Regions from separate parts of the Homo sapiens genome. Here region 2 is linked to region 1. Evidence: promoter capture Hi-C in human tissues and cell types (Jung and others, 2019). All regions are on one chromosome and are shown on one strand. Each heading gives the region's core, a stretch centred on a gene start or on the middle of the fragment in contact. The rest is flanking DNA. Distances are from core to core; before and after follow the strand shown.

Region 1 (6,194 bases), core at 692-3,191:
TGAAAGCCAGGCCAGGTTGCCTTTCAGCTCTGTTTCTTCTGAGCTGTGTGGCCTTCAGCAATAGTAACAACAACCACAGTGATCACAGTCAACGTTTATTCGACGCTTGATTTACATTTCGCGTGTCACTACTTCTTTGTTTCTCGGTTTCCTCATCTGTAAACGAGTGGGTGGGGAATTAATCGACTTCTCAGGGCTGTTGTGGGGCTCAAATGGTACCACGGGGGAAAGTTGGGCATGTGCTCGGGTTGTTTGTGAGGCCATAAGGGAGGCCCATATTGTTTGGAGGCTTGGGGGAATCAGGAGGATGTTCATTCCTAATGGAACCAGGTAGTGGGTTGGGGGTGAGGGTGGTGGCTCTCTTCACTGAGAGGTATGGCATGTGAGCAAGCTTCAAAGGGGAGAAAGAGGGATAAGGAGAAGGACCTTTAAGAGGAGGGCATCTGCCAGGTGCAGTGCCTCACATCTGTAATACCAGCACTTTGGGAGGCCAAGGCAGGAGGATTGCTTAAGCCCAGGAGTTCGAGACTAGCCTGGACAACATAAGGAGACCTCATCTCTACACAAAATTTTTAAAAAATTAGCTGGGTGTGGTAGTACACACTGGTGGTCACAGCTACTTGGGAGGCTGAGGTGGGAGGATCACTTGGGTCCAGGAGGTTGAAGCTGCAGTGAGCCATGATTGGGCCACTGTGTTCCAGCCTGGGTGACAGAGTGAGACCCTGTCTCAAAAAAAAAAAAAAAAAAAAAAAAAAAGAGGAGGGCATTGTGTGGGCAAAAGTGCGGAGGAGGAAAAGTATAGGGTGTGTTTGTGGAACAGTCCTGGTGCAATTAATGGCTAAGCCTGGCGCCCAGTGAATCAGCCAAGGATGCAGTCAACCAGCTCTTTGGCCCTGGGGCCAGCTTCGAGGCACAGAGACTTCTTTCCCTAACATTATCTTGTCCAGAGGTGGCTGAGGACAGGGCTAAGGGTGAAGGGAGACTAATTACAGAGCCCTACTTCTGGGTCTCTCACACCTACCCCTGGAAAGCCATCTGTCAGGAATGTGGCCGCCCCTCCCCACCTTCTGACCTCCTTAGCTAGGGACCAGTTTGGGCATCCCTAGGGAGTGATAAGCCACCAAGCAGGGGTGGCTGTAGGGAGTGTGTAGCTCCCAGCAGGCTGTTGGGAGTCAGTGGAGTTTGAAGAACAGATGGAGAGAAGGGAGGATGGGTTTAGAGTGAGAGGCTGGGGTCTTAGAAGAAGCAGTAGGTGGGCATGGTGGCATGCACCTGTAGTCCCAGCTACTCAGGAGCCTGAAGCAGGAGGATCACTTGAGCCCAGGAGGTCGAGGCTGCAGTGAGCTATGTTTGCACCACTGCACTCCAGCCTGGGTGACAGAGCAAGACCCTGTCTCTTAAAAAGGAAGAAGAAAACAGTGACGATGGGGGCTTACATTTGTCAAGCACCTACCATGTGTTGTAACCACCCTGTGAGGTATGTATCCTCACTTTACAGACCGGGAAACTGAGGCTCATAGAGGTGCAGTGACTTGCCGAAGTTTCTTTATCCAGTCATTCAGCATTCAACCTCAGCATCTACGTATTGAGCAGAGGCCCTGCGCCAAGCACTGAGGAGTCAGCGGTGACCACCTCTTGGCTTCTGTTCCCAAGGGTGACAGTGTCCTGGGGTCACACGGGCTCAAACCGAGGTCGATTTCCGAACGCTCACTTTGGAGCAGGATGCGAGCCCGGGCCACGATTGGGTCAGGTTGCGCCGCTCGCGTGGCCGCGGGAATCCCCGACCGGCCCCTTCCCTAGGGTCCCTCCTGGCGCACCTGCCCCAGGTGAGTCTGGGGAGGCCCCGAGCGCCGCCGGAAAGCGTCGAGCGGCTTCGGTAGGTGGGGCGGGGCCGGGGCGGGGCCGGGGCCGGGGAGGGGCCAGGCCCGGCACCCGGATCCCGAGGTCCGCGCCCCGCGCCCGGCGCCGGGCGCCCGAAGCCGGGAGCCGCCGCCATGGGGGCCTGCCTGGGAGCCTGCTCCCTGCTCAGCTGCGTGAGTCCCGACCCCGGCGCCCGCCCGCGCGCGCCGCCCGTTCCTGCTGCGGGCCCTCACTTTCTTCTGTTCTGCTCCGAGTAGTTTCTTCTTTTTCCTTCCTGCAAACTTGTCTTTCTGGGCCGGTGCCCCGCCTGCTCGCCCTCCTGGACCTTCACTCGGCACCCGGATCCCGCTGCCCCCGTCCCCCTGCTCAGTCCTGGCCGGCAGGCGCCGGGCAGCTGCGGTCCCGGCTCGGGTTTCCGCGGGCAGGAGGGGAGTGCCCTCGGCGGGCGCCCTCCTGGGACCTGGAGAGACTAAGCCTGGAGCCCGGGGTCGGGGCAGCTCTGTGGGCCCTCGTCGCCCCACTTGGGGCGGTCCTCGGGGTGGCCTCTGTCCCCGTCCCGGACGCCCTGGTTCTCTGTGTAGGTCGCCCGGGCCCCGTCCCTCCTGGCGAGTGCCCTGCCCTACCCCTCTGGCCGCCTGCCAGTCCGCCTGTTCCTGTCGCTCGGGCTCCGCCTGTCCGTTCGTATTTGTCTGGTTCCTGTCTGTGTCCGTCGTTCGTCCGACTGTCTTTGTCCGTCTGCTGTCTTCTGTCCGTCTGCCCGTCCGCCCGTCCGTCCCTCAGTCTCTCTGCGGTCCCTTTACCGTCCTCAGTCTGGCTCGCGCTGCCTCTCAGGCACTTCCCCAGCTCGCCCCGGATCATCTGGGCCCCAGCGCGGAGACTGGGATGGGAGCGGAGGGAGCCCCGGACTTTCTTAGCTGCCCTCGAGTGAGGCGGGTGCGGGTCGTCACGGACCACCGGGCGGAACTCTGGGTTGGGAGAGCAGGAATCGAGGGAGGTTCGGGTGTGCGCGGGGAGTGCCCGGTCGCGGGTTCGGGACCTGTGGGGAGGCCAACCTCTGTTCTGTAGCTGCAGCCGCAGAGGGGAGGGGCTCCAGCAAGACCCCGGCTGGGAGGCCCGTTCTCCCTTCCCTTTCCCCAGCCCCCCTCTCCTTTCCTCTTCCCCTCATTAAATCTGAGGTTCATTCAGGCAGCCCCCTCCCCCTCTGGCCCCACACAAAGAGGCCCTGAGAGGGAGAAGGGGCTGCAGCGGCTGCTGAATCTCGGGACTCGCTTTCCTTTGTCCCTGACGGGTTGTGTGTGTGTGTGTGTGTGTGTGTGTGTGTGTGAGAGAGAGAGAGAGAGAGAGGAGGGGGTGTAGGGGAGAGCTGAGGGTCTAGAGATTTACTTTACAGCCTTTTTCTGAGAATGAGATCAGCATAGACAGCACAGAGAGGCAAGAGAGCCTCTCGCCTCATTAGGCCTCCATTTTTCGTGTGTGTGTGTGCGTGTGCATGTGCGTGTGCAGGAGGAGGAATCAAGCTGGTGCCTGAAATCCCTCCCAGCCCAAAGAATTCAAGGTTTGGGCCAGGTCTCTGCCAACAAGGGTTTGCTTCCTGGTGAGGGAGGCAGAGCTTCCACAGTGGACCTGATTTCCATCGGTTGCACCTGGTGAGGCACAGGCCCTGCTGGGCTGGCCTGGGGGTGGAGATGTTGAGGGGCAGCCTGCCAGCCCTGTGTGCCTTGGTCACCCCATCTGGCAGTTGACAGTAACAGGGCCTTTCTCACAATGCTGTTGGGAGATGAGGCACAGTTCCTGGCATATCGTGAGTGCTCCTTGTGGGAATTATTGCTAACATCAAGGAAAGGTGGGTGGAGAATTCCATTTGGAGACAATGCAAAGCCAAGTGCTGGTCTCTGAGTTACAGCATTCTACAATGCTGAGAGCAGATAGGACTGCTCAAACCATCTGTTTACAGATGAGAAGACTGCCACCCGCCCGGAGAAGATAGCTGACTTTCCTAAGGTTGCACAGGGAAAGGATGAAGAACTGCATAGTTAGGATCAACATCTGATTCCTGGTCCAGGCTTCTGCCCACACCTTCCCTCCCTTCCCCACATCCTGGCTGCCTGAGGCACAGGGCTGGTCCAGGGAAGAATTGGGAGATAACTTAGTGAGTAATATCAGCAAGGGACCCGGCCCTCCCTTCAGTGCCATCCCCTTGGGGTTCTGGCCTCCGACATTTACTGAGGTTCTGGCCTCTGACATTTACTGAGCCAGGTACTGTTCCGAGCCCCTCACCATGCCATCTCATTGGCTCTCCCCACCTCCTCTACCCTATGACATCGTTAGCCCATTTTACAGATAACTATCCCAACACTCGCAGCGTGGAGCTGTCCAGGAGTGGCCTAGGCCCCATACAGTAGTGAGCAGTATGTGTATGTGTGTGTATATATATATCTCCTTCCATTTAATCCTCACAAAGACCCCACTGGGGCAGTTAATATTGTTCCCATTTCACAGATGAGGAAACTGGCTCAGAGAGTGAAGGTGACTTCTCCACAGCCACACAACATTAAGTGGTGTAGTTGGGCACTACTGGACACCAGTACCATCCTGTTGCAGTGAAGAGTTGCTGCACAGGAGTGAAGTTCTATGTGGGGTTTCTGGGCAACTTCAGGAGGGATTTTTTTGCATGCATGGGTCAGTGGGGAAGATTTTTGTATCCTCCCAGGTGTGACTCATCTGCTGATTGTGCTTCTCAGCATTGGAACTGGGCTGAAGGTGAACTGGGCTGAAGGTGGGTCCTGCTTTGGATGGGGAGGTAAGATGGGTCCACAGGGGATGGGGCCACCAGGCAAGCCGCCGGCACATGATGACTTGGCTGTCTGCAAAGATTTCAGGAGGGTCTTGCACATCCTAGGGAGTGTGAAAGGCCTTTGGGTCAGACCACTGGACTCGGATCCTAGCTTTGCCTCTTCGCATCTCTGTGACTGTGGGCAGTCACTTTGCCCATCCCCTTGTCTGTAAAGTGGAGAAAACAATGGTGTCTGCCCCTTAGCCTGTTGTGAGGATTAAATGGGACTGAGGTTAGCACAGCTGCATATTTAGCACCAAGCTGGTGTGCAGTGGCCGGTCCATAAACACCCCACAGTAGTACATGACTCAAGACTACATGCAAGGAAGTGCTGAAGCCAGTGAGACCCAGGGCTGCCTAACTATAGAGCCTGGGCTCGGAGCCCCTGTACTCTCCTACCCCAGGAGATCATTTTACAGATGAGGAAACTGAGTCCCATGGAGGGGAGGAGAGACTTGCCTGAGGTCAGATTACAAGCTGTGGCAGAGCCAGCATTAGGACCTGCATTCTTGGCACTGCATGGGGGAAGTAAGTGCACCTTGGGACATTTCCGGCTGACCTCTTCTCTGCTGTGTTTTGACTAGCCCTGGGGCGGCTCAGCCAGTTACGGAGTTGTTCATGAAGGCGGCAAGGTGCATGCTTGCCTGGGCCAGTTTTGCATTTTTTAAACTGTGACGAAATACATGTTAAAAAATTTACTCTTTTAACCTTTTATTTTAGTCTTCAAGGAGTTTGTATGTTATTTCATTTTATTTTATTTTACTTTATTTTTTTGAGATGAAGTCTTGCTCTGTTGTCCAGACTGGAGTGCAGTGGCACCATTCTGGCTCACTGCAACCTCTGCCTCCAGGTTCAAGTGATTCTCCTGCCTCAGCCTCCCGAGTAGCTGGGATTACAGGCGTGCGCCACCATGCCTGGCTAATTTTTGTGTTTTTAATAGAGACGGGGTTTCACCATGTTGGCCAGGCTGGTCTCGAACTCCTGATCTCAAGTTATCCACTGGCCTCGGCCTCCCAAAGTGCTGGGATTACAGGCATGAGCCACCACACCCAGCCTGTAATTTATTTTAGAAGACATGTATATTAAAATGGAGATCTAATAAATACAACCCTAATAAAAATTAATCCCAAACGAATGGCATTGTCAGAAGGAGTAGTGCCAACTAAGGCACACGGTAACTCCAGAACATCTTCTTACTGTCAGCCCTCATCTGGATTACTGACAACAGCCCCTGACTCTCCTCCCTTCCCCCAAAGATACCACACACTACCCCATGACCTGTCTTTTTGTGATCAAAGTGATATTTCTAAAATGCAAATCTGCTGTCATTCCTCTTCTTTCGCAATCATTCCCCATTGCTTTCAGGGTGAAGTCCAGACTCCCTGGCATGGCATACAGGGACATTGACCACCACTTCCGTGACCTCTGTAGCTTTTCTCACCCTTTCAGCTGCCCTGAAAATACAGTGTCCCTGTAGCTCTGCATGTGTCATTCTCTTTGC
Region 2 (6,194 bases), core at 1,987-4,486, 200 kb after region 1:
TCATTTTCTTTTAGAGAGCCTCTTTCTCTGTTTTTTAGGTTGACATCACAAAGGGAGACATTATTAGGCCGGACAGTAATCAGTCTCCTGTTCAAGAAGGACACACTAACTATATGTTCCAAAGATGGTTGATATACCAACATCCTTGAAGACAGTCCAGAACAAAAGGGCAGTTAGTGCCTCTGTGTGCAGGGCATCCAGAAACGAACCAGACCCATGGAAAATTCTTTCTCAACATGAACCTTCTCAACAGTTTTAATAGTTTGTCTGTAGAATCTCTTAGATTTTCTATGTAGACGATCACATGATCTATAAATATAGATGACCATTTTATTTCTTCCTCTCCAGTGGTTTATACCATTTATTCCTTTTTTTTTTTTTAAGACAGAAGCTTGCTCTGTCACCCAGGCTGGAATGCAATGGCATGATCTCAGCTCACTGTAACCTCCATCTCCTGGGTTCAAGCAATTCTCCTGCCTCAGCCTCCCTAGTAGCTGGGATTACAGATGCACGCCACCACCACCTCCAGCTAATGTTGTATTTTTAGTGGACATGGGGTTTCACCATGTTGGTCAGGCTGGTCTCAAATTTCTGACCTCAGGTGATCCCCTCATCTCAGCCTCCCAAAGTCCTGGGGTTACAGGTGTGAGCCACTGCACCCTTCTGATAACCAAGGTTTTCTGGGCCAAGCTCTCAGCTTCCTGCTCCTTGGTCCGTAAGAAAAATTCTCTCTTCCAGTAGTCTCTTCAGCTCCTGCAAAAACTCAGTCCACTCTGTCAATGAGGCCAGACATACCAGGACTCCAAGAGTGGTCAGGAGAGGCATGACCGAGGCTGTGAGCCCATGACATGGGGCGTGGGATCAAGTCATGCTTGTTAGTAGGTAGTGAGGCTGTGACGGGGTTCAGCTGGGAAGACTCTAGCTCTTGTCCTCCACTAAGGCCCCCACTTTATATCATCAACAATAAAAGGGCTATTGTTCTTCCATAACCCGTATTTTGCTTTCTTTCCCAGCATGTCAGAATCTGGGTGAGGAGAAAAAGGACTATTTAAAGGAGACCCCCTTGAAAACTGGATATCCATATACCGAAGAATGAAACTAGACCCCTATCTCTCACCATATACAAAAATCCAATCAAATGAGTTAAAAACTTTAAGACCTCAAACCATGAAACTGCTGCAAGAAAATTCCCCAGGACATTAGACATAGGAAAATATTTCTTGAATTATATCCCACAAGCACTGGCAACCAAAGCAAAAATGGGCAAATAGGAATACATCAAGTTAAAACAATTCTGCACAGCAAAGGAAACAATCAACAAAGTGAAGATACAACCCACAGAACAGGAGAAAATACCTGCAAACTATCCATCCAACAAGGGATTAATGACAAGAATATATAAGGAGCTCGGCCTGGCGCGGTGGCTCACGCCTGTAATCCTAGCACTTTAGGAGGCCAAGGCGAGAGGATTGCCTGAGCTCAGGAGTTCAAGACCAGCTTGGGCAACACGGTGAAACCCCACCTCTACTAAAATACAAAAGAAATTAGCCGAGCATGGCAGCGTGCGCCTGTAGTCCCAGCCACTCGGGTGGCTGAGGCAGGAGAATTGCTGGAACCCAGGAGGCAGAGGTTGCAGAGAGCTGAGATCAGCCACTGCACTCAGCCTGGGCGACACAGCAATACTCCATCTCTACAAAAAAAAAAAAAAAAAAAAAAAGGAATATATAAGGAGCTTAAGCAACTCTATAAATCTAATAATCTGATTAAAATGGGCAAAAGACCTGAACAGACATTTCTCAAAAGAAGACATACAAATGGCAAACAGGCATATGAAAAGTTGCTCAACATCAGCAAACAAAGTTATCCCATCTTCATTCCACCTGCCTTGTTCCAGCTGCTGGCGGCCGACAGGATGGCATCCACCCACATTGAGGGTGGGTCTTCCTCTCTCAGTCCACCAATTCAAATGTCAATCTCCTCTGCCCACACCCTCACAAACACACCCAGAAACAACACCAGCCATCTAGGCATCCCTTTATCCAATCAAGTTGACACCTAATATTAACCATCATACCATACATAAGTACATAACAATAAAGTAGCAAGAAGATGCCACAAAAATTGAGATGTGGTATAAGAATAACAAAAGTTTAGAAAATACTCAAGTAAAAGCCTAGTGAGTAACAAGCCAGTATTTGCCATCAACACCCCACCCCCTAACAAATGCAGACATCTGGAACATACAGGGAGGGGAGAGATTTTTAAAGAGAGGGAACAGCTTTCTAAAAAAATTAAGTCATCTTGGACAGTCACAGTGGTTCACACCTGTAATCCCAGCACTTTGGGAGGCTGAGGCAGGCAGATCACCTGAGGTCAGGAGCTCAAGACCAGCCTGGCCAACATGGCGAAACCCCATCTCTACTAAAAACATAAAAATTAGCCGGGCATGGTGGCACGTGCCTGTAGTCGCAGCTACTCAGGAGGCTGAGGCAGGAGAATTGCTTGAACCTGGGAGGCGGAGGTTGCAGTGAGCTAAGATCGTACCACTACACTCCAGTCTGGGCGACAGAATGAGACTCCGTCTCAAAAAAAAAAAGAAAAAAAAAAGTGAGTGATATTTTTCCTAAGGACTAGAGTGCCTACAGGGAGTGTTGATGTCTAGAGTAAATCCCTCCTTATGTGGCCCAGGGTGGAGGCTGGAGTGTCTGTTTGTGTATCTGCCCTCTGCCACATACCCTAAGCCTGCTGGTTCATGCTCACCAACTCAGTCAGTGAAAGGACAACCTAAAGACATTTTCAGACATGCCAAGATTCAGAAAGCTTTCCTTCCATGCACCCCTTTTAAAAATGTTATTTGAAAATATACTTGAGATAAAGGGACATAATTCAAGAAAGAGAGACATAACAGATTCACAAAACAGTGGAATTAACCCAGTAGCACAGTGAATAGAAATACCAGAGGTCCATAAAGCCATCCATCAAAATTAGAACAGGAAGTCAGAGGGTTTGGAGAAGAACGTCTTTAGGAAGAAAATGGGCTTCATTCAACAAATAATGTAATTAAGAAGCTGGAAGATTTTAATGACTTGACTTAAAAGGCATATGTTTCTTCTCTCAAGGAGAAAAGAGGAAAGCAATTAGAAACTTCATGAGAACAAGAAATTGTGTAAGAAAGTCATGGTCCAAATATGAAGTGAATTAAAATGTCTTATGACTCTGAATAGCTGAGGGAGTGGAGGAGAATAGACTTGAGCTTGAAGCCTGGATCATTTCTCTTTGAGCAGTATTTAAACTGTGAGATTATAGTTCCTTCTCTATGTGTCCCAGGATTCTATTTGGCTCTGTAGAGAATAATGTTTATATAATCATAATATTGTTTAAGAACACTTTATTGATTTTCAATATTTGAAATTCAGAGATAGACAATACACAAAACTAGAACATTTTAATTATGGATATAGAACTAGATGCAAATGTAGCAGTTTAGCAAAAGGAATTAGGAGAGAAAGCAAGAGTGATGTCTCGTCTTACACAGTGGGGAGTTAACAGATAGTGCATGAAATTAATGGCACAAGAAAAAACAGCTGGAAATATTTGTATCTAACCAAACTCTGGAGGGAAGTTACCTTTGCTAAGTTCATCTCTTTTCTTTCTTTTTCTTTTTCCTTTCCTTTTTTTTTTTTTTTTTTTTTTTTTGACAGGGTCTTGCTTTGATGCCCAGGCTGGAGTGCAGTGGTGCAATCACAGCTCACTGCAGCCTCAATCTCCTGGGCTCAGATGATCCTCCCACTTCAGCCTCCCAAGTAGCTGGGACTACAGGCACCTGCCACCAAGCCCAGCTAATTTTTTGTATTTTTTGTAGAGATGACGTTTTCCCATGTTGCCCAGCCTGGTCTTGAACTTCTAGGCTCAAGTGATCTGCCAGCCTTGGCCTCCCAAAGTGCTGGGATTACAGGTATGGGCATTACAGGTGTAAGCCACCACACCCGGCCATAAACTCGTCTTTCATAGTAGGAATTGTTTCCGATGCTGTTAGTTCTTCAATAACCACCCCTTCCTCTATCTTTAGTCACAGAACTCTTACATCTCAGCTGGACACCACCTGACATGGCTACCCAGACAAAAATTATATTTCCCAGCCTCCATTGCAGCTACATGTGATCAGGTGACCAAATTTAGGTCAACTTGATGTTAGCAGAAGTGATGTGCCTTTCCACTTAGTTGAATTATGGACGTGACCAGCCATCTCTGACGTAAGTTGAGAGTTTTTTAATTTTTGTGACAGAGTCTTGCTGTGTCACCCAGGCTTGAGTGCAGTGGCATGATCTCGGCTCACTGCAACCTCTGCTTCCCAGGTTCAAGTGATTCTCATACCTCAGCCTCCTGAATAGCTGGTCTTACAGGTGTGTACCACCACACCTGGCTAATCTTTGTATTTTTAATAGAGACAGGCTTTCACAACGTTGGGCAGGCTGGTCTCGAACTCCTGACCTCAAGTGATCCACTCACCTTGGCCTCCCAAAGTGCTGGGATTACAGGTGTCAGCCACTCCACCCAGCCTAGGCCAAGAGTTTTGCCATAAATATTATAATAGTAGCTAACAGTTATATACATGCTAAGTATCCATCAGGCACCTTTCAAAGTGTTTTGCATGTATTAACTCATTTAACCCAATGGGGATATGTAGTCACTTCCTATTGCTGCTGTAACAAATTAACCACAAACTTAGTGGCTTCAAGCAACACAAAGTTATTCTTCTACAGTTCTGGAGGTCAGACATCTAAAATCAGTGTTTCTTTCCTTCTGGAGACTCAGGAAAATCCATTTCCTTGCCTTCTTCAGCTTCTACAGGTCACCTGCACTCCTTGGCTTGTGGGCCTTTCCTCTTATCACCACGACCACTTGCTTCCATCCTCACATCTCCTATCACTACTCTGACCTCTTGCCTCCCTCTTATAAGGATCATTGGATTTCATGGAGCCCACCCAAATAATCCAGGATAATACCCCCAACTCAAAATGTTTAGTTTAATCACTTCTGCAAAGTCCTTTTTGCCACGTAAGGTAACATTCAAAGATTCTAGAGATTAGGACTCAGACATCTATTATTCTCCCTACCACAGATGGGTACTATATCATCCCCTTTTACAGACAATGAAACTCAAAATAGAGAAGCTAAATAGCATGCCCAGGATCACACAGCTGGTAAGTGGCAGATCCATGGTTTAAACCCATACAATATGGTCCTAGAATCTGTTCATGTAACCATGATACTCTTCTATCCTGGCAGAATTCTGGCTTTCTGATGACATTGGAGTTGCCTGACCAGCCCTGGAGAGAGAAATACACCTTTTTTTTTTTTTTTTTTGAGACCAAGTCTCATTCTGTCGCCCAGCTGGAGTGCAGTGGCATGATCTCGGCTCACTGCACCTCCGTTCCCTGGGTTCAAGCGATTCTCCTGCTTCAGCCTCCCGAGTAGCTGGGCTTACAGGCACAAACCACCACGCCCAGCTAATTTTTGTATTTTTAGTAGAAATTTTTTTAGTGGAAAACTTTAGTAGAATTTTTTTATTTTTGTACTTTTAGTTTCACCATGTTGACACCAGGCTGGTCTCAAACTCCTGACTTCAAGTGATCCACCCGCCTTGGCCTCCCAGAGTGCTGGGATTACAGGTGTGAGACACCTCGCCCAGCCAAGAAAAACACTTTCAACTTTCAAAGCCACTGTCATTTGGTGGGGCTCTTTGTTACAGTCACTATATTCAAATAAGGAGTCAATAGTAATCCACAGAAATAAAAATAATGCTTTTCATTTATTCTGAATGGTTTGAATATTTTACAAGGAAAATGTGTTATTAATTTCAAATCTGCTTAAGTTGCAGGACAAAACTGCCGACCTGTCTGTGTCGCACCTGGGTTAAACCCTCCCATCATCTTTGGGATAGATTGAGTTCAAGCACCTCAGCCTGCCCTGGAGGCCAGCGTTTCACCCATCTTTTTGTTTCTCATTGCTCCTCTTCATGGGTACACTCTCAGGCCAAACTAGTATTTGTGGCATACTAGCTTGCAGCAGGCCTTTCACCATGTCCACCCCATGCCTGTGCTCATGCTGTCCCCTCTACCCGGAATACTGCCCCTTCTTCCTCTCCCACTCCTGCCTAGCATGTCTCATTCAAAGGCTAGCTGTGAGCTCCT

The links. Contacts are between HindIII fragments. The study calls those that stand out against the background at their distance.
Region 2: a contact is called between a fragment that was not itself captured here and the fragment with the promoter of SERINC2 in region 1, in 1 of the 25 tissues and cell types used here (IMR-90 fibroblasts).

Annotation. Positions count from the first base shown.
Region 1 is chr1:31,411,272-31,417,465 of GRCh38, forward strand. It overlaps SERINC2 (serine incorporator 2), which reads left to right and starts at 1,942. Exons shown (of 10, transcript NM_178865.5): 1 at 1,942-2,033. The coding sequence starts at 1,995. RefSeq lists enhancers at 1,690-2,190, 3,461-4,009 and silencers at 1,757-1,826, 1,907-1,966. The HindIII fragment of the contact is 9,558 bases long and covers 1-4,232 here.
Region 2 is chr1:31,606,704-31,612,897 of GRCh38, forward strand. No RefSeq gene overlaps it. Among named protein-coding and RNA genes, the nearest start is that of HCRTR1, 7.9 kb to the right of the region's middle. The HindIII fragment of the contact is 7,167 bases long and covers 1-6,194 here.